4 separate regions of the Homo sapiens genome follow, and regions 1, 2 and 4 are each linked to region 3. The links are contacts of gene promoters, found by promoter capture Hi-C in blood cells and fetal thymus (Javierre and others, 2016). All regions are on one chromosome and are shown on one strand. The core of a region is centred on a gene start or on the middle of the fragment in contact, and the rest is flanking DNA. Distances in the headings are between cores, read along the strand shown. Region 1 overlaps BOLA3 (bolA family member 3). Region 2 overlaps TET3 (tet methylcytosine dioxygenase 3). Region 3 holds the start of ACTG2 (actin gamma 2, smooth muscle). Region 4 overlaps TET3 (tet methylcytosine dioxygenase 3).

The links. Contacts are between HindIII fragments. The CHiCAGO score rates a contact against its expected background, and 5 or more counts as called.
Region 1: a fragment that was not itself captured here is called in contact with the fragment with the promoter of ACTG2 in region 3 in 9 of 17 cell types (activated CD4 T cells, naive B cells, total CD4 T cells and 6 more); the score reaches 12.4 in activated CD4 T cells.
Region 2: a contact is called between a fragment that was not itself captured here and the fragment with the promoter of ACTG2 in region 3, in 4 of 17 cell types (activated CD4 T cells, naive CD4 T cells, naive CD8 T cells and 1 more). The highest score is 5.8, in activated CD4 T cells.
Region 4: a fragment that was not itself captured here is called in contact with the fragment with the promoter of ACTG2 in region 3 in 2 of 17 cell types (activated CD4 T cells and naive CD8 T cells); the score reaches 8.8 in activated CD4 T cells.

The regions. Positions count from the first base shown.
Region 1 is chr2:74,134,416-74,137,977 of GRCh38, forward strand. It overlaps BOLA3 (bolA family member 3), which reads right to left. Exons shown (of 4, transcript NM_212552.3): 4 at 985-1,243. The coding sequence ends at 1,178. It also overlaps a transcript of TET3 not described here. Among named protein-coding and RNA genes, the nearest start is that of BOLA3, 12 kb to the right of the region's middle. The HindIII fragment of the contact is 961 bases long and covers 997-1,957 here.
Region 2 is chr2:74,062,745-74,066,213 of GRCh38, forward strand. The region is part of intron 4 of TET3 (tet methylcytosine dioxygenase 3); the gene reads left to right. Among named protein-coding and RNA genes, the nearest start is that of TET3, 80 kb to the left of the region's middle. The HindIII fragment of the contact is 707 bases long and covers 1,643-2,349 here.
Region 3 is chr2:73,891,440-73,894,885 of GRCh38, forward strand. ACTG2 (actin gamma 2, smooth muscle) reads left to right here and starts at 1,569. Exons shown (of 9, transcript NM_001615.4): 1 at 1,569-1,612. RefSeq lists an enhancer at 645-1,458. The HindIII fragment of the contact is 3,877 bases long and covers 1-3,290 here.
Region 4 is chr2:74,042,995-74,046,478 of GRCh38, forward strand. TET3 (tet methylcytosine dioxygenase 3) reads left to right here. Exons shown (of 12, transcript NM_001287491.2): 4 at 3,284-3,484. Among named protein-coding and RNA genes, the nearest start is that of TET3, 60 kb to the left of the region's middle. The HindIII fragment of the contact is 7,830 bases long and covers 1-3,484 here.

The DNA of each region.
Region 1 (3,562 bases), core at 227-2,726, 240 kb after region 3:
GGCACAATGTATGAACAGAATATTTGAAATTTTTTTCTGCCCTCAAAAATCTGGGGCCCAAGGTTGTTATATCTTCATGTCCTCATTTCTTAGGGAGGTACCTTCAGAACCAATAGTGACCCCTAACTTCTCTGGTGGTCGGTTCCATGAAAGGCAAAGGAGTGTGAGAGAGGAGTGGATGGTCAACCTCCCACTGCCATGGTAACATGGGTGCTGGCTGATGGGAGCAGAAAATAATTTAGTGAAAGTCTGTGGGGGCAGTCACAAGATGTCTGAGAAAACTGGCGAGCCAGCTGCTGAAAACAGGGACAAGGAAGCCTCCGTGGCTGGAGCCCAAATCACACTGCAGACCCAGACACCGTGACCACCACCATGGACTCCAGAGAGAGCAGCTTATAGTACTCAATCAGCTGCCACTACCACCATCCAGAACACCAGATGTTGTAGCCATGGCTGCAGCAGGAATGGATGTCCCACTGTCCCTGCTCCTCGGTGTGACTTGCTCCCAAGTTCAGGGCAGGTCCATCTGATTGGCTGAGTCTGGAATATCTGCCTGTGCCTCAGCTGTGAGGGAGGCAGGGAAAGTAAGCCTTTTCAGCTTCTGTCGTGGGAGGTGGGCTCTGCCTCCTACCAAGAATCAAAGGGTGGAGGATCTTCAAACACAGGAAAAGAACCCGGATCCTGGCACCCCCAAATTTTCAGAGTCCATTTCAGAGCATAAGAAATTGAGGGTCCAAGATCATTCATGTAAGAAGTTTAGAGGGGGAAGAAAAGAATGATAAACGAAAAGAACAGCAATAGTAAAGGATCTTTTCTTTGTTTCAGTAAGATGAAGAGGCCTGAGCAGTTTCGTGGAGGGGAAGAAACAGGAAAACCTCTTCAAAAGACAAAAAGCTGGCACTGCATTCTCTCTCTGTAGCAGGACAGAACTGTCTAAAGACAAGACCCCTTTGGCCAAAATAAAGGAACCTGAAACATTACTAATGACCCTTCAAAAGCTTCAGTTGTTTGTTTCCTTTAATTAACATCTAAATAGATTATACATCTTCTATAATTATAATATGGAAATGTATATGAGCAAAATATATAAATTTTTTGGTGACTGCTTAGGGAAGAATGATGTCAGTGAAGTTCATCCAAGGTCTTAAGCAGCAGCATCTATGCAGCCAGGGCGTGGTCAGCGTTTGGGGACAGAGGTAAATATCCGCAATCCATGCATCTCTTTGATTTCTTCTTTTAGTGCCTAAGTAAGAAAACAGCATCATCAGTTTTTGTGTATTTGACGTTGATTACAGTAATTCTCTGAGAGTATTTTTATACAGCTCTGCATCTGAAGGAGACTTTGTATGTGCTTTGTTTAAGCAATTTTTCCTTTTTTTGAAAAACAATTTTTTTTAAATCAATAATATCTAACATGATTTAAAGATTCAAAGGTACAAAAAGGCATTCAGGGAAGTCTCCCTCCTATACCTGTCCATCTCCCCAGTTTCCACCCTTGTTCCCAAAAGAACTGTTGTTAGTTTCTTGTGTATCTTTTTTTTTTTTTTTTTTTAAGTCATGGTCTCGCTCTAGCGCCGAAGTTGGAGTGCAGTGGCGCGATATCGGCTTACTGCAAACTCCACCTCCTGGGCTCAAACAATCTTCCTGCTTCAGCCTCCCTAGTAGCTGGGACTACAGGCACATGCCACCATGCCTGGCTAATTTTTTTATTTTTTGTAGAGGCAGGGTCTCACTATATTGCCTAGGCTGGTCTTGAACTCCTGGACTGGAGCAATCTGCCTGTCTTGGCTTCCCAAAGTGCCGGAATTACAAGCGTGAGCCACTGCACCTGGCCAGTTTCTTGTGTATCTTTACAGGGACTTAAAAATGCATATTCACCAGGCATATTCAAGCTAATATATTTCACCCCATGACCTTTTAAAACGCAAATGGTTAAAATTTCAAACACATTACACCAAGCTTGTCCAACCCACGGCCCATGACAGCTTTGAATGTGGCCTAATATAAATTCGTAAACTTTCATAAAACATTTTGAGATTTTTTTTGAAATTTTTTTTAAAGCTCATCAGCTATCATTAGTGTTAGTATATTTTATGTGTGGCCCAAGAGAATTCTTCTTCCATTGTGGCCCAAGGAAGCCAAAGGACTGGACACCCCTGCTCTACACTTTGCTCTTCCCCCAAACATCTATCTTGGAGATCTTTCTATGTTAGGCATATATGGGTGTCCTGATTCTTTTTTGCATCAGCATAGTATTCCATTATATGAATGCATTATAACTTTTCAACCTGTCCCCTAGCGAACTTTTAGGCTGTTTCCTGTGTTTTGTTATTTCGAGCATCAAGCATTCTTTAAAATGAGCAGTTCTTTAAAATCATACCAATTAGCACAAATTCCCCAATGGTCAGAGCAGGAAATAAAGTTTCAAAGGAATTATGGGACTTGTTTTAAGGCTACAAATGGTGTCAGAGCCCAAATCTGAAGGAACTACCAGAGTCAAATAGATATTTGGCCCCTGTAGTGCTGGGAGAAAGTGAGGTTACAGAATCAGAGTGGGGCTTGGACCGCTCAAGTTTATAATCAGTACAGAGGAAGAAATAAGGTCCTTTTATACTAGGCCAAAATCTGATAATCATACTAGAGTGGACATTTTTCTTTTCTAGTCTCTTTAGTGATCTCCTTCTCTTGGGGAATAATTCCTTTTCCACTCTATTGTATAATTCTGGTGGAACCACCAATTGGTCTGATATTGAGGTCATTATGTGCCACTGGCCCAGCCTATGATTGGACCGAGGTGGCACATGACCCAAATTGGGCCACTTAGAATCTCCCTTGGGATTTCTGAGAGTGGAGCCTTGTTTCTTGGGCCAACATGCTATGAAATTAATTGGAGGTGGCCATGGACTGTGTTTCCCACCAAGGAGAGAAAGCCCATCTTTAGCAGGAGAAAAGGAGACCAACACAGGGAAAGAAGCTGAAAGCTCAGAGAGAGAGAGGAATCTAGATATGCCAGAAACCAGATAATTTTGTTACATGGGCCAATTAATTCCCTTTGTTTGCTTATGCTAATTTTAATTTGGTCTCTGTCTCTTACAATATAAAGAATCCTAATATATGTGGTCAGGTTTATAGATCCTTAGACACAATCTAGTCCCATCCCCTTATTTAATTAAAAAAAAAAAATAGAGTCTACTCCTTGTCCAAAGTCAGCAAACAAGCGAGTAATGGAATCAGGATATGAACCCAGGTATCCTGAGGTCCTGGCCATACCTGGTTTCCATCATGTTCCTGACTTGCCCTGATCCGGGAGCTCCTGTTGTGTTGGGGGACAATGAGCTGCCCCACTTGGCCTACACTGCACACCCTCCAGCTCCACAATCAAGTGCAGGGCCCTCAACTCTGCGGACAGGCAGAAATGTCCCTGGAAAAAGCCTCATATAATCACTGGGCGAAGGTCCCTGGGCCACTTGCTCTCTGCAGGCGTGGAATGCTCCCTAGAGACTGTGTCTGTGCCTGGACCACAACCAGCCTCTCCTCCTTACATCCACCTTGGCTGGGTGAG
Region 2 (3,469 bases), core at 746-3,245, 170 kb after region 3:
TAAGTAGGGTAAAGATTGAATTTAAGATTGAATAGCATTAAACAGCACCAAGAAGGTTAGTAAACCTTGTTTCACTGTGAGAAAAAAGAGAACCGTATGCTGAAGGATCTAAATACTTGGTTAAGTTCAGGTGAAACTTTTTTTTTTTTTTTTTTTTGAGACAGAGTATCACTCTGTCACCCAGGCTGGAGTGCAGTGGCGCGATCTCGTCTCATTGCAACTTCCGCCTCCTGGGTTCAAGCCATACTCCTGCCTCAGACTCCCGAGTAGCTGGGGTTACAGGCGTGCACCACCACGCCTGGCTAATTTTTGTATTTTTAGCAGAGATGAGGTTTCACCATGTTGACCAGGCTGGTCTCTAACTCCTGACCTCAAGTGATCTACCCACCTCAGCTTCCCAAAGTGTTGGGATTACAGGCCTGAGCCACCATGCCTGGCCTGAAACTTTTTTTTTTTTTAATGGAGTATGCCAGGCTTCTCATGTAAGATCACTTTGAGAAGTCTAATTGTCCCACCGTTGGTGAAGCCCAGGTGTCACTAGGTTAAGGTGGTAAGAGCAAGAGCCAGGTCTTGCCATTATAAAGTTATGTTTTCCCCTTTGTGTCCAGCAAATAATTTGTCAGGCAATACTTCACCACCATGTGATTATCCAGTTCCCCATCAATCTTTAGTCATATCATGTCTACTGATGATCCTTGTGTAAGTTAATTTTTCATTAGGGATTGCAAACTGATGATATTCTAATTCTGTCCATCCTTTTTTTACGTTTAATACCTTACAAAACCTGAAAGATGCTCAATAATTCAGTCACAGAAGGACAAATGCTGCATGATTCCACTTATATGAGTTTTTGTAAAATAGACTTATAGAAGTAGCAAATAGAATGTGATTGCTAAGGGATGGGGGAGGGGGAGATGAGTTGTTCAGTGGGTATAAAGTTACAGTTATGCAAGATGCGTAAGTTCTAGAGATCTGCTGTACAGCATACTAAACATACCATATTGTGCAGTTAAAAGTTTAAGAGGGCAGATCTGGCCTGGTGCAATACCTCTGCCTGCAATCCCAGCACTTTGGGAGGCCGAAGTGGGAGGATCACTTGAACCCAGGAGTTTGAGACCACCCTGGGCAACAAAGCCCATCTCTGCAGACAAAAAAAAAAAAAAAATAAGTAAAATAGATTCTGAAAGAAGGGTAGATCTTATCTTTAGAGTTCTTACCAAAAAAAGTGCTGTTCTTCATTTGATTACTTTCTAAGTAAGAAAGCCAGGATAATGCATAATTTTCCCCTTAATTACCAATTGTCAGAATATAAGAGTTGGCTTAATATCACATTTCATCAGTTGGAAGAAGTGTGAGCATATGTGGCTTTATACTACTTAAAAAGCATCTCAAAGCTCTCTGAAGTCGGGATATAGCTTATAATCAATGATGTCTTATACTAGTTGTTGGCCAGGCAGCCATTATGGCACCCGTATACACGCATGAATTTGGTCATAGCTTTTCATATTGTTATCTCGGTGAGTTATGAATATTGTTAGTATTATGTGTGTTAAGATTAAATACTGTTTAAATTGTCTTCAAAAAGAGTACAGTGTGATTCAGTATTGAAACAAAGTTATTGTGTGTAGAAACATGGAAACTAAGCTTCTGAGCATTTCTTTTTTATTTTTTTTGAGACAAGGTCTTACTCTGTCTCCCAGGCTGGAGTTCGGTGGTGTGATTCCCACTCACTACAACCTCTGCCTCCCAGGCTCAAGTGATCCTCCCACCTCAGCCGTTTGAGTAGCTGGGACTACAGGCGTGCGTGCCACCACGCCTGCCTAATTTTTGTTTGTTTATTTGTTTTTTGGTAGAGGTGGGGTTTCACCATGTTGCCCAGGCTGGGCTCAAGCAATCTGCCCACCACAGCCTCCCAAAGTACTGAGATTATAGGCATGAGCCACCACAGCTGGCCCAGATTTTTTTTTCAATAAATATACTGGAACGCTTTTTGGAGATTTGTAAAAAATTTGAAAAAACTGACAAAATGCATAGCCTAGAAATATTGAAAAAATTTATTAATAAATGGTAAATATGTCACAAATACATAAAATATATGTAGATACTAGTCTATGTGTTAATTATCTGTTATCAGTAAGACTTCCAGTCAACAGTAGGCTATTAGTAAAGTTTCAGAGAAGTCAACAGATATATGCAGGTTTTCAACCACACTGGGAGTTAGTGCCCCAACCTCCATGTTGTTCAAGAGTCAACTGTATTCTTGTAAAACATGCAACTCATTTACTGCATTTAGCTTATATTTTTCTTTTTATGTATATATAGTGATAGATCCATCTAAGCAAGTCTAAAAGCTTTTTCAATGAATATGAGATAAAAAGTGAAAGTGATTATGTATAGTATTGCCATGGTTTAAGTGACAAGGTTTATCTTTTAATGGTAACTCATAGAAATTATGCATATTATAGCAGTTAAAATGAAAATGAAGTGAATAGTCACCTTCAAGGACAAAGGAGTGTTTGTTATTTTTTCCTCTTTTCTCTTTTTTGAGCATCATTATGGACTAATGAATATTTATATATTTAATGAGTTTTAGTTACAGTCATTCTTCTTGCTCAGATTGTCCCAAATTTGGCCAGTGGGATGCCCCTTCAGGCCAGCTCCTGTGGTCTTTGGACATACCTCACCCCAGATCATTCTTTGATCATTTCTTTGCTTTTTGTTCAACAAGAAATATCCAGGGCACATCATCCTTTTCCTGCCTCAGACCTTGAATTAACCATTTCTCCAAGACCACCTGATTTCTTTTTTTTGTTTTTTTTTTTTTTGGCTTGGTCACCTGGTTCGTCCGTCCTTCCTTCCGTCCGTCCGTCCGTCCGTCCTTCCTTCCTTCCTTCTCTTTCTCTCTCTTCTTTTCTTTTTTCTTTCTTTCTTTCCCTTTCTTTTCTTCTTTCTTTTTCTTTCTTTCTTTCCTTCTTTCCTTTTCTTTCCCTTTCTTTCCTTTCCTCTTCTCTTCTCTTTTGTTTTTTCTTTTTTTAGACAGAGCGAGGCTCTGTCTCAAGGCTGGAGTGCAGTGGTGCGACCTCAGCTCACTGCAACCTCCGCCTCCCAGGTTCAAGTGATTCTCCTGCCTCAGCCTCCTGAGTAGCTGGGACTACAGGCACCCGCCACCATGCCAGCTAATTTTTTGTATTTTTAGTAGAGATGGGGTTTCACTGTGGTAGCCAAAATGGTCTCGATCTCCTGACCTCGTGATCCGCCTGCCTTGGCCTCCCAAAGTGCTGGGATTTCAGGTGTGAGCCACCGCGCCTGGCCCACCTGGTTCCTTTTAAGGGATAATGGTGTTTAGAAATCAAAACCAGAGAGCTAGGGGTACTTACAGCTACTAGAATGTCATTGCTCTTATGTTTCTCCAGTGGACAGGACCCGAGTTCATAATGATATTTATAATTCAGACTTAACAGTACAGAGG
Region 3 (3,446 bases), core at 319-2,818:
AGCAGGGATTGAGGGAGGACACAGAGCTGAGGGGCATTTCTGGTCGGGGGAGCACCAGGCTGTGGTGCCCAGGTGGTTGTGGGAGCATGAGGGAGACACAGGGTTCTAGACTGACTGACTTCTAGCTTGAAGGGCCGAGGGGTGGACTTGGAAGTTGGCAACCCAGGAGGCACAGCAGCTTTGAGGGTAGGGAAGAAGGGTTCAGTTTTAGACAGGATGAGTTTGAAGAGCTGGAGAGTCATCTGGATTGGGATGTCCAATAGGCAATTGATCATTTTAGTCTGGATCAGGGTGAGGGAGGGGGACCATGAGAATGTGGAGTTGAAAGTAATACTGCAGAGCTGGTAGCTGATAATGTGGGAAATGAACCAGCTACCTAGGGATAGTACATGAATTACACAAAGAAGAGCAATCATCAGCCAGCCATGGTGGCTCACACCTGTAATCCCAGCACTTTGGGAGACCAAGGTGGAGGGATTGCTTGAATCCAGGAGTTCAAGATCGAGACCCTGTCTAATTAAAAACAAAACAAACAAACAAAAAGAAGTCCAGGCGTAGTGGCTCACACCTGTAGGCCAAGGCAGGTGGATCACGAGGTCAGGAGCTCGAGACCAGCCTGGCCAACATGGTGAAACCCTGTCTCTACTAAAAATACAAAAATTAGCTGGGCATGGTGGCAGGTGCCTGTAATCTCAGCTACTCAGGAGGCTAAGGCAGGAGAATTGTTTGAACCTGGGAGGCGGAGGTTGCAGTGAGCCGAGATTGCACCAATGCACTCCAGCCTGGGGGATAGGGCGAGACTCTATCTCAAAAAAGAAAAAGAAGCAGCTCAAGAATCACAGGACTGTGGAAAATCCTACAGGCCAAGAGTCTTGTTAGGTGTGCCTCAACCCTGAAGCAGGTCCCTCAGTCTGCAGATATTTAGAGATATTTAAAGGAAAACCAGGAAGGAGCCAAGAGAGAATGAAGCCTAAGGTGTCCTGAGACCCTCAGAGAACTCAGCCCAAGGGTTAGGAGCTTGTGTCAAGGTGCAGCAGGTGAGTAGGGCACGCAGGATTTCTTTCCTGGGTACGGAAGGCATTTCTCTTCAGCTTTCATTGGTCCCAGGCTCGTGCCAGACAAGGCATGATTGCACCCATTTTGGGGACAGTGCCTGGGCGTCCCAGGCAGACCCAGGGGCCGCATGCAGCAGGGCCTGAGGAGGGAGGTGTGGACGGAGGAGGCCCGCTGCCATTCTTGGTATGGTTCTCACTCCAGGAGCACAGCTGCATCTGGTCTCACTCTGGGCAGCTTATAAGGCCTGGTGTGAGTTTTGTTTATGCAAGTGCAGCATAAAAGGAACAAATCTACCAGCACCGGGGCTGTTGCCACTGAGTCCTTTTGCATACATTTTTCAAATGATAACTCACTCTACCCACCCCCCTTCCCTACCCCCAAGGCGATTTATTGAAAAAACCACCTTATATGGTAATATTGCTAACACACCGTCAGCTGGCCTTTTTAGGGACTTTGTTTAAAGAAGATCCGCCTCTGGGGTTTTATATTGCTCTGGTATTCATGCCAAAGACACACCAGCCCTCAGTCACTGGGAGAAGAACCTCTCATACCCTCGGTAAGTACTGTACGGCTTTTGCCACCTCTTCCTTTCCGGGGCTGCCTGGCCTCCTGGGTGCGGGAGGTGCCTCCAGATTGGCCTGGCTTCTGTGACGCTGGCCCAGATCACACACCAGAGCCCTTGGTGGGCAGCGGCACCTGCAAGCATACTGCAGCCTGCTGAGAAAAGGCGTATCTGGCCATGGGACATCCTGGGGCAGGGGCAGCTTGGAACCGTGCTCCCTGCCTCAGAATGGGGACTGGCGGGATATAATGCCTGCAGTCTCTACTAGCCCTGCTCCCCAGGGCCAGTGCAGATCCACACCCTGATGTCCTTTGTCTTGGGTTAGAATGTCTGGGAGGCTGTTTTAGGGGATCATATACTTTGCAGAAAAGCAGCTTTTCAGAATACTTGAGTCAAAGCCAACAGTGGTCCTGGTGTCTGTGAGCTGTTTAGTCCATGAAATGTCTGTGCTGGGAATGGGAGGGTATTTTCTTCAGGTCCCCTGTGGGTCTCTCTGTCCTCTGATCTGTGCTTGGCTGAGGAGAATGGAGGGTTTCTGCAGTCCTTGAAGGCTCTAGGATCATTGGGGGATGGAGAAAATTCCACTTGCCCTGTGGCATCGTGAGGTTTCAGGGTAGAAGGAACTTGGGACCCATCTAGTTCATTCTCCTCTGATGAGGACATTGAGGCCTAGAGACGTACAGCCACTCATCCAAAAGACTCACACCCAACTGTGACCCATTTGCAGATGTCATTACTCCCCCCAACCCACCCAACACACACACAACACATGCACAAAGAATTAAGAGGAAGATGAGATGAAGGGGCCACTTCTATGTTTGGCATCAGAATTCACTAGCATCTCTTCACAGGTGAGGCAGGCTGGGTGTGGCAGTGCAGGCCTTGAAGGCAGACTGTCAGGCTAACCAAGTTACTGAGCGACCTCAGCTTCCTCACCTGTAAAATGGGGGCAAGAATAATAATATCTACTTGGCGATGGTGTGAGGATTAAACGAGAGAATGCGTATATACAGCACTCAGCTCAAGGCTGTCAGGGCCCGGCCCTGAGTTCTCAAACTTTAAGAATCACCTGGAGTGCTTGTTAAAACACAGATTGCCCCATGCCCCACCCCAGATTCTGATTCCAGTAGGCCGAGATATGGCCTGATACTTGGAATTCCTAACAAGCTCCCAGGCGACACTGAAGCTGCTGGTCTGGGACCACACTTTGTACAGGGAGGCTCTAAGTGCTCACTTTGATTACTTGAATGTGGGTTTGGACTCTGATACTAACCCTTGGGCTGAAAAGAGGAAGAGCTTCCTGTGACAGAGAGGGATGGGTGCTGGAGAAACTGCAATGAACAGTAAGATCCTACATGCCAGGCCTGAGAAAAGGGGATGGGCCGTGTGACATCATGACCTTGGGGCGAGATATCTTTCCTCTTTCCCCTTGTTCATTCTGCCAACATTTATTGAGCACTTATTATGGGCCAGGCACTGTCTCTGCTCCTTAGGGACAGTGGAGAGGCTTCTGCAGTTACTGGAAGAGACAGATAAACAGATGAGAACCATGGAGCAAATAAGTACACGAAAGGGGTAAAGGCCAGGAGGAGCCCATCACTCAACCCAGGAGTTATCAGGGAAGACTTCCTGGAGGAAGAGGTGCCTGAGCTTGGTCCTGAAGTAAGGACCAAGCTTGGTCCTTCCTGGTAAAGAGGAAGCATGGTCTTTGGGACTCAAGTGGCTCAATTCCACTGAATTTAGATAGCAAGGCAGGAATCAGGTAAAACTAAATTCAGAGGGGTCCGCAGGGCTGGATTACAAGGGCTTTAGACTCTAAAGGATCAGG
Region 4 (3,484 bases), core at 874-3,373, 150 kb after region 3:
TTCCTTGTTCTTATTCACACACCAAAAATAACTTTTTAAATCCCTTTTAGTTGTCTTGACCATTTTGGGGAAGCCTCCACTCATGTAGCATTAGTCTCCCTGACACTGTTTTTGTAAATCTGTGCTACTCTCGGGTGTTTCTTCTTGGTTATGCATGCTCTTTCCGTCTTCCTACATAAGCATGTAAGATTTGACCACTTCAGATTGTATAGCCTTGTTAGCCACATTAGTTTAGGCTTCTAAGAAAGAAGAGAGTGCTGGGTGATCTGCCACATTCCTAGACTTCGGAAAAGTAGTCTCCCACTGGGGTCAGGGAAAAGCTGATATATTCCATGGCCTGTGGGGATGGCAGGCCTTTCCTTTGCCTGAGTGTTACTGCTCCAGCTGTGGGCAGGAAGCACAGGAGTCATTGAGATTTGGACCCTGCCTGCCTGGAGCCACCATCAAGTGGGGGAGGGAGGCAGCTGCTTGAACAAATAACAGTAGTGGCATGCGATAAGTGCTAATGAAGGTGCCCTGGGAATCCAGGGAAGGAGCCACAGATAATTCTATGTAGTAGGTAGGGGAAGAGGTGACACTGAGCTGATAAGCCAGGGAGGCCGCTCTAAGAGGCTGAGAAGGGCATTCCAGGCAATGAGAACTGCGTGTACAAAGCCTGGTGACATCAGAGAACATGGCCTGTTAGAAAAGCATGAGGGTCTTTTGTGGCCAGAATGGGGGCAAGGGTGAGGATGAGACAGGAACTGCGGGCTGGGGCCTCTGCTAACCTCCCACAGAGCTCATCCCAAACCCTAGTTTCCCACCACACTTAGGAGCCCATGATGGCCTTGTCTGACAGTCTTAGCACTGGCATCTTTTTAGCCACCTACTTAAAACACTTTGAGGCCAGACACAGTGTCTCACACCTATAATCCCAACACTTTAGGAGGCTAAGGCCAGAGGATCATTTGAGGCCAGAAGTTAGAGATCAGCCTGGGCAACACAGCAAGACTCAGGCTCTAAAATTAAAAAAAATAAAAATAAAATAAATTAGCTGGGCGTGGTACATGCATCAAGTCCTAGCTACTTGATAGGCTGAGGTGGGAGGATCGCTTGAGTCCAGGAGTTCAAGGCTGCAGTGAACTGTGATCACACCACTGCAGGAGTTCAAGGCTGCAGTGAACTATGATCATGCCACTGAACTCCAGCCTGGGTGAGAGTGTGTCTGTAAAATAAATAAATAAAACACTTTGTGTTATACTTGAGGGACTGATTTCTTATTTAGCTTTTTATTTTCACAGAATTTAAAAATTTATAGAAAAATAGCAGGGATCATACTTGGGACTTCACATACCCCAAATGTGTAGGTTTTGTCTCATGTATTTATCATCTTGTCTGTATAGACATATTTTTCCATATGCATATGGTTTTTTTCTGAATCATTTGAGATTAAATTGAGTACATGATGTTCCTCAACTTATGACTGAGTTACGTCCCAATAAACTAATCATCAATTGAAAGTATTGTAAGTCAAAAATAGGCATTTTATAGACATGATGGGTTGCTAAAACACAGAACACAATATCCAGAAAGCCCTAACAGCATGGAACACTGTGGAGCCTCAGTCGTTTACCTTGGTGATGGCGTGGTTGACCAGGGGATCTGGCTTGCTGCCACTGCCCAGCATCGCGAAAGTGTTGCTAGCCTCAGAAAAGATCAAAATTCAAAGTATGGTTTCTATTGAACGCCTGTCGCAAAGTCAGAATCTTAAGTGGAACCATCGTAAGTTGGGGACTGTCTGTACTGTCCCTTTACTCCTAAATACTTCAGTATGTGTATCCTGAGAACAAGGGCATTCTCTTACATAACCCATTGTCTAATGATCCAAGTCAAGATTAGGGATGACAGAATATTATCTTATCCACATCCATATTCACATTTCATGACTTGTCCCAAGTAAAAATAGTGTGCTTTTCCCCAGTCTAAGGTCTAAGCCATGAACACGCATTTAGCTGTTCTTTTTAAGGGAAGAGATTGTTCTCTTCAAAAAATTTCAAAGTCAAGAAAAACAATACAGGTACTTTCTAGAACGCCCTTCAATTTGGGTTTGTCTGATGTTTCCTTGTGATTAGATTCAGGTTATACATTTTGGCAGGAGTTCTATGTGAGTGGTGTTAAGTCATCCGCAATGTCTTACATCAAGAGGCACATGGTGTTGTTTTGTCTCAGTATTGGTGATGATTGTAACTTTGGTCATTTGGGTTAAGGTGGTGTCTGTCTACCAGATCTCTCCACTACAGTTACTATTGTAATTATGTAATTTTAGAGATGCTTTGAGACCGTGTATACATCCTGTACCTCATCATGCTTTCACCTGCTGCCACTGATGTCTTTTTAAATCCATCAGTCCTTCTGTGTTTTCTCTTAGCATTCTACAGTAAGGAAGAGCTTTCCTTTCCTAAGGGATGGGTCTGCAAACTCAATTTCACATCTTTGTATTCACTTTTCTCTTCCTCTCATCCTTCCCCTTTGGTGTGCTTTTGGGGATATGAGGTATATGGTGGTGGCTCTCGTGCTTGGGGAGAGGCCTGAATCCTTCTCTAAGCAGCAACTTGCTTGTCTTTGGCAGGACTGACCTGGCATGGGGCTAAACGCATGCTGTGTCAGATCATCGGCGTTTCCCTCAGGCCTGGGGCTGTGTGTGGGAATGTGGTCTGTTGCCAGCTTTCTGTGCTCAGCCTGGGCTTAAGTGAGGACAGTTTTAGGGGGAGAAAAGAACTATGGGTCCCCACTAGGAAGCCATGGCTGACCCATGGTCCAGGCTGAATTTGTTCATCAAAGCTCCTCTTTCCCTACCCCTACGAACCCACACTTCACACTTAGAGCACGTGTGTACACACAGGCTTGGTTGGATTTCTTTCCATCTTGACAAAAAACAAAATAAAGTCCTAGTGTGACTTTGATCATTGTGAATTAAGGACCTTTTTGTGTGTCTCTGGTTTTAGGAGAGCCTCATTTGTGTGATTGATCTGAGGCTCTAAAAGTTTCTGAGCAACATTAAGAATGTCTCATTAGGATCTTCTCTTTAAAAATATCTTAAAGATCTTCTTTTTGTTTCTGCTGGTGAAGCTCCCTAGGGAACCAGAGACATGGGAAGATGAATTGGAGGCTCAAGAAGTACCAGAGAGAGGATTTGCAAGAAAAGTTGGGGTCAGATGTGCACCTGAGTGGTATGAAGCAGGGAAATGCTTTTCAAATAGTGTGGTTCATTTTTTTCCTTTTTCCCCCTTCTCTCTCTCTTTAGACAGGCTCAGAGCTCAGCCCAGTTGATGGACCTGTTCCAGGTCAGATGGACTCAGGGCCAGTGTACCATGGGGACTCACGGCAGCTAAGCGCCTCAGGGGTGCCGGTCAATGGTGCTAGAGAGCCCGCTGGACCCAGTCTGCTGGGGACTGGGGGTCCTTGGCGGGTAGACCAAAAGCCCGACTGGGAGGCTGCCCCAGGC